Linked DNA regions of Homo sapiens: regions 2 and 3 are each linked to region 1. Evidence: promoter capture Hi-C in human tissues and cell types (Jung and others, 2019). All regions are on one chromosome and are shown on one strand. The core of a region is centred on a gene start or on the middle of the fragment in contact, and the rest is flanking DNA. Distances in the headings are between cores, read along the strand shown.

Region 1 (3,545 bases), core at 634-3,133:
GGAGGCCGAAGTGGGTGGATCACGAGGTCAGGAGATTGAGACCACGGTGAAACCCCGTCTCTACTAAAAATACAAAAAAGATTAGCCGGGCGCGGTGGCGGGCACCTGTAGTCCCAGCTACTCGGGAGGCTGAAGCAGGAGAATGACGTGAACCCGGGAGGCGGAGCTTCCAGTGAGCCGATATCGTACCACTGCACTCCAGCCTGGGCGACATAGCAGACTCCGTCTTAAAAAAAAAAAAAAAAAAGCAAAAGAATACAGAAAATTGTTAAAGGGGAGAAGGGGGTGGTCAAAGGCAGAGGAGTCGGTGTGGACAAGACAGAGATCTCTTGGAGAGAGGGCAGGACTACCAGTTGACAAAACCTGTTCAGGTTCCTGGAGGCTCACAACCACCAGTTCCCATCATCCCAGCAACAGCACTCTTTCCCACCCTAGCCTCGTTCGTAATGATCTGATCAATGTGTGAACAAAAATATTGTGTGTACAAGTCTCAACACATTTGATAATGTGAAGAGGTGAAGGAAAGTGGGTAGGAAAAATCTGTAGGGTGGGGAGACTCGGGGAAATGTGTCCTGGTCCAGTGCAGGTAACATATATGGGTATATATGCGTATATACATATTTATACCATATTTAATATATTACTCTATTAAGAAATTATAACAAATTTCCTTTTACATTACACATCCACATATTAAACCCCCAATATGTGCTAACAAGGTTAGAATTTAAGTATAATGATAATGTTCTCAGTTTTTTGTGGTGGACACTTTAAGAGAGTGTAAATAATAATAAAAATAATAGAGTGATCAGATCACTTGTGCTCAGGGCTAGACCCTTCAGCCCCAACGGCCTTAACCCCCCTCAACTGCTTTTCCAACCAAATATTCCTCCCCCTGCAGGATCCCAGGGCCATCCAATCAACCGGCCAATGACGGTTTCAGAGAAGCGGTCCTGGGGAGGGGTATTATCTGCAGGAACACGTCCTGCCAACTTTGTAGTCGAGTCACCTATTTCGGTTGGTAGCGGCCGCTATTTCTTTAAAAGGGCAGTGGATTTCGAAACAGGAGGGGGAGGTCAGGAAAAGGAACTCAGCTGCCTTTGATAACTGCCCTGCAGCCTTCCCTTCCCGGAGCGCGTGCTCGGCTCGGGAAGCGCCCGCGGCCGCCGCATCCCCGAGCGGGCGCGTGGCGCCACCTCTTTCCGGGGCGCCCACCTTCCCCGGGAATCCCCCCGCCCGACGGTCCCCCAGCGTCTGCGGCGCGGCCGCCCCGGCTTTGTCTCCGGCGTCGCGCTCGGGCGCCCGCTCTCCCCACATTTCCCCGTGTGCAGGCTGTAACCCGATCTCCCATTTCCTGGTGGATTCTCTTAAAGAGGCAGCGGTCGAGAAGCAGAACAAAGGCTATTGTTTTATTTCCTCCTTCGGATTCCGCGTCCTAACCGGAATGGCCCTTCATAGATAATTACTTTCGTTGCATCTGCGCTTAGTGAAACGTTTCAAAACCCTTGTGCACATCGATGTATCCAAGAGACGGAGCCAGGGGAGGTGGGAGGAGTTTAATAAAACCTGTTTTGTGGTGTCTGGGGCCACAATGTAACGTTTTTTAAAGGTGTCTTCCTTAAGCCCGGAAATTGGCTCGGCCAGCGGGAGGTCTCGCGGCGTGGAGGGCGGGCGCCCGCACCGGGGGCCGGCCTGGGGGGCTGCGCCGCTCGCCCCGCTCGCAGCCGCGGCCCCACGCGGCCCCGCTACCCGGGTTTCCTCCGCCCGCGCCCCCGCGGCCGCCCCTCCCCCGCGCAGCTTTTATTTCCCCGATGCCGGGCTGTAACCCGAGCTTTTATTTCCTGGTGGCTCCTTTAAGAGGCAGAGCTCAGTGCTGGGAATTCACGTCAGTTTCTGCACTGAAACTCTCAAGATCAATGAGCAAAGAGCTTTCTCAGTTCTGCCTTTCAGTTTCTCTCTTCCAGGAAGGAAAACATTCGAGAGAGCGAGGGAGAGCCGCGGGAGGGCGGGGGGCGGGGGCGCCGGCTGCGGGTGGGAGGAGAGACCGGGAGGCCGGCCGGGCTGCGTCCCGGGTCCCCGCGCCGCGCCGCGACCTGCAGACCCCGCCGCCGCGCTCGGGCCCGTCTCCCACGCCCCCGCCGCCCCGCGCGCCCAACTCCGCCGGCCGCCCCGCCCCGCCCCGCGCGCTCCAGACCCCCGGGGCGGCTGCCGGGAGAGATGCTGGAAGAAACTTCTTAAATGACCGCGTCTGGCTGGCCGTGGAGCCTTTCTGGGTTGGGGAGAGGAAAGGAAAGTGGAAAAAACCTGAGAACTTCCTGATCTCTCTCGCTGTGAGACATGTCTGAGACTCCTGCTCAGTGTAGCATTAAGGTAAAAATCTTCTCCCCTCCTTCTACGTGGTGGAAACCCTGAGCTGCACCGGCCAGGGCAGTCGTGCTGGGCTCCTCAGAGCAGGCTGTTGCAGTTGCTCTGTTCGCAGGAAATTATTTGGGGCGAGAGGGAAAGAGATGCAGCTCGCGGTGGCTGCTGTACCCTTTAGCGTAACCTTGCTACTCCCCCCCACCGCCGAGCCCCTGCCGGCTCCTCGGCCCCCACCCCCTTGCTTTTTGACAATGAAATGCCGGTCACAATTGGTCAGAGCAACCCGGATTGTCTCCAGAACCGTAAAACACCCCCGTAATTAGTGCGCTTAAAAAAAAAAAAAACAAAAAACAAAAAAAAAAAACCTGCTCCCTATTCCTACACCCAACATGTGACTGAAATATAACTTTTGTTCCCGAGGGGTGGTCGTCTTAGAAAAAAAGTTGTTCAGTTTCCACTGCGATAGAATCTTTTTATTTTTTTAAAGGACTCTCTGGGTCTGATCAGACAGGATTTTTTTCCCCCTCGTCTGATTGTAATTGCAAGCGCTGTCGGAGAGACAGTCCTGGTGTCAGCTTTTCCTAGGCATTGCACAATGAATTTTTTTTTAAAACCAAGGTGAATAAAGTTGCTGAATAGTTATTTTACTCCGATCCATATGAAAGTTGAGCAATCCCAAAGTAGAAAACTCCTGTGATGGAGGGAGAGGAAGAACTAAGCAACCAGGCAAAATGACCTTCTGTGTTTGACAGTGCAGAGAGGCTATCTAAGCAGCACTCTGTAAATGCAGGGCGGTAGATGTTTGTAAACACACTGCTGGGCTACCCAGTAGTTGTGTGTATGCATGTCTATATATCTGTAAAGACTGTGGTGCTGCGGTTTGTTGCTTCTAAAAAGTTGTTGTAAAGTTTGCCACCATTGGGAGGCAGGATGATTTATCCATCTACCCGTGTTATTTTTCCCATCGCTGCATTTATTGTACACTTTATTCATTTCGCTGTTCCACCAGTACCCAGGTAGAAAGCCTTCCGCTCTTGTGAGAGGCTGAAGCTGCTGAAGTTTGTTTTTGGTTTGGCCTATTTAATGTGTGTTCACTGAATGGACACTACAGCAACAATGAACAAATAACCTGTTTTCTTCGTCTGTGGGGAGTTAGAAAAACCCTTCCTGGTTTAACACTGCCT
Region 2 (3,545 bases), core at 376-2,875, 1.1 Mb after region 1:
GGTGGGAAGGTCAAGTTCTTTTACCATCTCCCACTTGAAAGCTGAAGGCCATTCACCCCTCTTCTCCCTGCCCAGTGCAGACAGTAGATGGGCACTTGACCTAAGCTCAGCCAACCCAGTGGTCACTCCTGGAACTTTGATTCTTAAACTGATACAAGGACAAAAGGAAAGAGTGGTTGGTCAGTTTCATCACACAGGCTGTTCCAATTACAAAACGACTGATGTCCTTTCAGTTTCTTGGTTCTTTAGAACTCCATGGTCCTTTCCCATGTTCAAGTATGTGTTCCCTCAGTCTCATAGCAATAATTCGCTTATATTAGCCAGAGCGAGATTTTTACTACAAGTTGAGTATTCCTTAACCAAAAGGTTTGGGACTAGAAGTGATTTGGATTTCAATTTTGGCAGGATTTTAGAATATTTGCATTATATGTTTACCAATTGAGCATCCCTAATTAAAAAATCTGAAATCCGAAATGTTCCAGTGAGCATTTCCTTTGAGCATCACTCTAAAATCCAAAACTTACTGAGCACCAGTGTGACGCTCAAAGGAAATGCTCACTGCAGCATTTCAGATTTCAGATTTTTGCATTAGGGAAATTCAACGTCTCAACCTGTGTATCCAGATGGAGACGGCAATTCCAAAGAACAAACTGAAGAGGAAGAGGGTATAGGAGGTGGATGATGGTGTCACAGTTCACCTGGAAATATCTTCTCTACAAGGAAAGGTGTTTTTTTTTTTTTTTTTTTTTTTTTTTTTTTTTTTTGTTGTTGTTGTTTTTTGAGACAGGGTCTCACTCTATCACCCAGGCTGGAATGCAGTGGTGCAGTCTCGGCTCACTGCAACCTCTGCCTCCTGGGGCTGAAGCGATCCTCCCACCTCAGGCTCCTGAATAGCTGGGACCACAGGGGTGCACAACCACACCTGGCTATTTTTTTTATTTTTTATTTTTTTGTGGAGACAAGGTTTTGCCATGTTCCCCAGGCTGGTCTTAAACTGAGCTCAAGCAGTCCGCCAGCCTTGGACTCCCAAAGTGCTGGGATTACAGGTGTGAGCCACTGTACTTGGCCAGGAAAGCATCCTGACAATGATCTGATGGTTTACATTTCTTCTGCTTGCTTCTCCCTGTGGGAGGCATATACCTCTCTATCTTTTTGCTTATTTTATTTTACATTTTTGAGACAGGGTCTCAGTCTGTTGCCCAGGCTGGAGTGCAATGGTGTGACCATGGCTCACTGCAGCCTCGCCCTCCTAGGCTCAAGCACTCCTCCCACCTCAGCCTCCCAAGTAGCTGAAACTACAGGTGCACACCTCCTCGTGTGGCTAATTTTTAATTTCTTTTTTTTTTTATAGAGATGGGTTCTCACTGTGTTGCCCAGGCTGATCTCAAACTCCTGGGCTCAAGCAATCCTCCTGCCTCGGCCCCCCAAAGTGCTGGGATTACAGGAGCCAGCCAGTGTGCCTAGCTCCTACCCCTTTAATGTTGGGTTGGCCACAACTTGATTGGCCAATAGAATGCCAGTGGATGTGATGGCTACCCTGTCTGAGCAGCCTTAGGAATGATTAGTCAATTTTGCTTCCAAAACATATTCTGTACTTTATCCACTCCATTGCATCCTACCAACATTAGCCAAATCTGAGATAATCTCTGTCAACTACTTCAATAACCTTCTAACTGTCTCCTGGCTTTAGTTGTGTACCTCTGAGAACCATCCTTCACACAACTGTCACACAACAATGTCAAATTAACCTTGTAAGGCCACAGATGAAAGCCTTCAATGGCTCCCTCTTTCCCACATGGCACTGGAAAGCTGTCATGACTTGTCTTCTACCTACCCCTTAAGCCTCATCCTTTGGCCTTCCCTGCTTCCCACTTTATGTTCAGCAACACTAAACACCCTGGACACTCCTCCATTCCTTTGTCCATTCTGTTCCTTTGTCCAGACTGCCCTCCTCTCTCTCCTAATTTTTGTCCAAATAACTTCTGTTTGACTCTCAAGATTCAGCTCAATATCAGTGCTCCCAGAAAGTCTTCCCTAGTACTTCCTGGGCATGTATTTGCCCTGTGCTTTCTTGGTACCAGCACACACCCCGGCACTTCCCCACCTTAAATTTAAATGATATATTCTGTCTTTTTCTCTTCCAATAGATTTGCCGTCTCCTGGAGGGCAGGGACTATATCTTATTTAGCTTTTGGTCCCCAGACTCTAGCCTGATGTCTGGCACACAGTAGGTGTTCAATACACATTAGTGGAGCTGAAATCGAACAAATTAAACATTAATATAAGCAAATTCTGAAAGCCTTCTGCCTCTATTCTTACAAAAGCTGGTGGCATTATAAATGGGTTCTTCTGGAAAGCAATATAGCACTATATAACAAAAACGATGAAGATGGTCATTCTCCTTGACTTGGTATTTTCCCGTTTGTGAATACTCCTCAAAGAAATAATCCAAAGGAAAAAAAATGTACACAGATGTCCTGGCAACTCTAGTTATAACAGTGAAAAACCTGGAAGCAATCCAAGTGTCTAACAGGGAAATGACTAAGCAAACAATGGGATTATTACATAGCTATTAAAAAATGACAGAGGTGAGGACTATGTCAACATAGACAAGTGTGTATCTATCTGCAGGAACGTTAAGTAGAAAAAAGAACACAGGCTAGTGTTTAAACACTAGTGATTAAGGATGTGTGTGTACATTAACAAAGATTGGAGGCTAATTTGGAGGAATGAAAATGGCTGGAGTGCAGTACTTGTTGAGTCTTTATTTTCCTGTGCAGTTCCATGAATTTTTGACAATAATACTTGAGATTCCATGCAATATAGATATCCTAGAGGTCTTCTGCAGAATAAGTATTCTAAGTTATACCAAGCTGTATAGTCCAAGAGAAAATTTTATGTTAAATTCTTATAAAATTGTTATAAAATAATGATATTTCTTTAAGTGAACAAAGCATTTTTCTTTAGTTAAATTCAACAAGCAACTATGAGAGCTTGACTATGTTCTAGAGCACTTACATTCTGGGGAAATTCAAAGAAATCATGGGCAAAAATCCTCAGGTGAATATGTGTTATTATTTTAATTTGCTTTTTTTTTTTTTGAGACAATGTCTGGCTCTATTGCCCAGGCTGGAGTGCAGTGGTGTGATCTCGGCTCACTGCAGCCTCACCTCCCAGGCTCAAACCATCCTCCCAGCTTAGCCTCCCAAGTACCAAGTAGCTGGGACTACAGGCACACACCACCGAGGCGCCTGCCTCAGCCTCCCGAAGTGCTGGGATTACAGGCATAAGCCACTGTGCCTGGCCGAATTTATTTTTATTTTGGTGAATGTACATATTAGAACAGATGACAAAGGAAAGTCTGCAAGACCTTTGGACTAAACCTCACATTTACAAGTTGTCTCAATTTTATTTTTTATTTCAATTTTATTTATTTATTTATTTTGATACAGAGTCTGGCTCTGCCACCCAGGCTGGAGTGCAGTGGAGCAATCTTGGCTCACTGCAACCTCTGCCTCCGGGGCTCAAGCGATCCTCCCACCTCC
Region 3 (3,545 bases), core at 533-3,032, 1.1 Mb after region 1:
GTCTTTCTATGAGAAAAACATTGAATATATGTAAAGAACTTACAACAAGGCCTGCATAAAGTAGTAGCTATGCATGTGTTCACTATTTTATTATTATGTTTTTACTCTGGAATATGCTGCCACTCCTACACATGAGGAGAGGCTCTCCCCATACTCACCAGAGCAAGCAAGTCCTTTTTTTTTTTTTTTTTTTTAAGACACATGGAGTCTTGCTCTATTGCCCAGGCTGCAGTGCAGTGGCATGATCATGGCTCACTGCAGCCTCGACCTCTTGGGCTCAGGCAGTCCTCCTGCCTCAGCCTCCTGAGTAGCTGGGACTGCAGGTGTATGCCACCACACCTGGCTAATTTTAAATTTTTTAGAGATGGGGTCTCACTATGTTGCCCTGGCTGGTCTTGAACTCCTTTGCTCAAGCAGTCCTCCCAACTTAGCCTCCCAAATCATTGGGATGAGAAGCATGAACCACTGTGCCTGGTTAATTACATAGATATTTACATATCTACTATCTTAAAACGGTGTCCTTTTAAGAATTTCAAATGATGCTTTATAGTTTCTAATATGGTGCACTGGGTATACTGTTGATATTTAAAGTTTTGTGAATGATAAATTTCCCTACTTCAGTAGTGCCATAGAATTAATTGATTCTTGTATCTGAAATTTAATGAGTGCTTATGAAGTATGCTGGACTGTGCTAGGTTCTGACAGCATTTGAAAAGAAGTTTGACATCTGCCTGTCTGTCCCCTTTTGGCTGCCTATGAGGTGTGTAAGATGGCTGCAATTTGAGGAGGCATCCTTTGTTCCTGAGGATAGAAGGTGCATTGTGGAGTAGAAAGATACAGGAACTATAGGCGATGCCACACCAACTCTGTGCCACTTATCTCCAGAATTCCTGTACAGAAAAGAAAAGTACACTTTTATCTTGTTTAAGCCACTATGATTTCTGGGCTCTGTTACTAGCTGCCAAATGCAAATCTTAACAGATACAGAAGTCCTTGAGGATTTTTGAGCAAGGAACTGACTGTAAAACTGGTGGCTCTGCAAGGGACAGATTTGGGGAGGGGGGTGTTCTGGAGAATCCTAAGAGATAAAGTTGGCTTGGTAGGTGGGGACAGATAGTAGGGGAGACTGAATGCGGAGAATACACATCTTGCACAGGTCACTGAATTTTGTTTCTTTTTCCCAGGACACCTCTGCTAAACTCCTATTTTTACCGTGGTTATTTAAATATGTGGTTATTGAGGAATTTGTATTCTGCTATCGTCAAGTGGCCTGAAAGCCAGGGAGATCGAGAAGATGAGTGTTCTTTGTGCTTTAAAAAGAAGCAGGCAAAAGCTGGAACGGGAAAGAGTATCAGTGTTACAGTGAAGTGAAGTTACTATGTTTTCTGAACTCCTGCAAGCATTTTCAAGGAAAGGAATGTTTGTTACAGGTGATTGTCTAATCAAGATACATTTGAAATGTATCCTTTACTGGATAGCAACTGTAAACAATATTTAAAAAATATATCTCAGAGTGACTTGCAGAGTAAAGATAATTTCATATGCTAAAATTTCTAAAAGGAGAAAAACCTTTTTTATTAACTTTAATGTTCATATAATCACATTGAGTAATGGCTATTTTTTTCCTAGTGAACTTTTCATTTTAGGTTGGGCAGGTAATTTTATACCTTTAATTACATGGGTCTTAAAAATATGATCCTATAGCCATAACTGAATATTATAAGCTTGGGTACTTTATGTTTCATCTTTCATTAAGGAGTATATTTCTCAGATCCTACCAGATCCTACTTTTTTTTTTTTTTTTTTGAGACAGAGTCTCACTCTGTCACCTAGGCTGGAGTGCAGTGGTGCTATCTTGGCTTACTGTAACCTCTGCCTCCCAGGTTCAAGCAGTTCTCCAGCCTCAGCCTCCTGTGTAGCTGGGACTACAGGTGTGCACTGCCACATCCGGCTAATTTTTTTTTTTTTTTTGGGATGGAGACTCACTCTGTTGCCCAGGCCAGAGTACAGTGGTGTGATCTCAGGTCACTGCAACCTCTGCCTCCCAGGTTCAAGCGATTCTCCTGCATCAGCCTCCTGAGTAGTTGGGACTACAGGTGCGTGCCACTACGCCTGGCTAATTTTTTGTATGTTTAGTAGAGATGGGGTTTCACCGTGTTAGCCAGGATGGTCTTGATCTCCTGACCTCGTGATCCGCCTGCCTCAGCCTCCCAAAGTGCTGGGATTACAGGTGTGAGCCACCACACCCAGCCTAATTTTTGTATTTTTAGCAGAGACGGGGTTTCACCATATTGGCCAGGCTGGTCTTGAACTCCTGACCTCAGGTGATCTGCTGGCCTTGGCCTCCCAAGGTGCTGGGATTACAGGCATGAGCCACTGTACCCGGCCCTCAGATCTTATTTTCTATGGACACCCTACTTTGCTTCAGCCCTGAGGTCCCAGCTGCCCCATTCAACATTTTTACCTTCCTTTTCTGCATTGTCCTAACCTTTAGGAAATCTGAACCCCAGTAGTTGACTGTCTTCTGAACTAGGTGAACCTAATATCCCAATCTCTCTGTTTCCCTAAAAATGGGTTGGCAATTCTAAAGTTCCTTTCAAACCTGGTTGGACAGATAATTATAAGCCTTAATGCAATGACAAATTTCAAGGTCCCTCCAGGCAGTGACTTTCAGCCTTCCCTCTACACATGGAAAGGAATGTGCCCAGTATTACCTGAAAATTCTTACTAGGTTTTGCCTCAAAACGTAATATTTGGAATCTTTTTTTATAATTTTCCCACTACAGACTGGAGACAATCCATATATTACTATTAAAATTGAGTTGCGGCTGGGCACGGTGGCTCACGCCTGTAATCCCAGCACTTTGGGAGGCTGAGGCAGGAGGCTATTCAGTATTACCTGGAAATCAGAATGCCAATTACTCAATAACCATGTATTTAAATAGCCATGATGAAACAGGAATTTAGCAGAGGTTACCTGGGAAAAAAACAAACCCATTAATTATGTCTCTCAAAGTCCTTGTACCTTTTGTAACTTTTTTGTACCTCTTACCAAGAAAAAAAAAATTGTATCTCCCTACCTTTCCCTCCCCATTTGGAAAAAGTACCCTAGAATGCAAGAGACTGAACATCAGGTTGTAACCTGGACTATCTGTTGCAAACTGTCATACTTTTTTTACGAACTTGAAACATTTTAGAGATAGGGTCTTGCTCTGTCGCCCTGGCTGGAGGGCAGTGGCACCATCATAGGTCACTACAGTCTCAAACTCCTGGGCTCAAGTGATCCTCCCATTTCAGCCTCCTGAGTAGCTGAGGCTACAGGCATGTGCCACCACACCCAGCTAATTTAGAACATTTTTCTTTTTTTGTAGAGACAAGGTATTGTTATGTTGTCTAGGCTGGTCTTGAACTCCTGACCTCAAGCAGTACTCCTGCCTCAGCCTCCCAAAGTGCTGAATTACAGGCATGAGCCATTGTGCCCGGCCCCAACCCAGTTTTTATTGCAACGTGGATTGTCTACAGTTTATAGTGTGAAAAAGTATAAA

The links. The method cuts DNA at HindIII sites, captures the fragments that hold promoters and counts their contacts. A contact is called where the count stands out against the background at its distance.
Region 2: a contact is called between a fragment that was not itself captured here and the fragment with the promoter of ETV6 in region 1, in 1 of the 25 tissues and cell types used here (sigmoid colon).
Region 3: a fragment that was not itself captured here is called in contact with the fragment with the promoter of ETV6 in region 1 in 1 of the 25 tissues and cell types used here (liver).

Annotation. Positions count from the first base shown.
Region 1 is chr12:11,647,791-11,651,335 of GRCh38, forward strand. ETV6 (ETS variant transcription factor 6) reads left to right here and starts at 1,884. Exons shown (of 8, transcript NM_001987.5): 1 at 1,884-2,370. The coding sequence starts at 2,338. RefSeq lists an enhancer at 787-886 and silencers at 1,067-1,306, 1,597-1,806, 2,017-2,066, 2,077-2,236. The HindIII fragment of the contact is 9,953 bases long and covers 1-3,545 here.
Region 2 is chr12:12,777,162-12,780,706 of GRCh38, forward strand. It overlaps a transcript of APOLD1 not described here. Among named protein-coding and RNA genes, the nearest start is that of APOLD1, 6.7 kb to the right of the region's middle. The HindIII fragment of the contact is 8,085 bases long and covers 1-3,545 here.
Region 3 is chr12:12,738,029-12,741,573 of GRCh38, forward strand. It overlaps a transcript of APOLD1 not described here. Among named protein-coding and RNA genes, the nearest start is that of CDKN1B, 22 kb to the left of the region's middle. The HindIII fragment of the contact is 3,194 bases long and covers 186-3,379 here.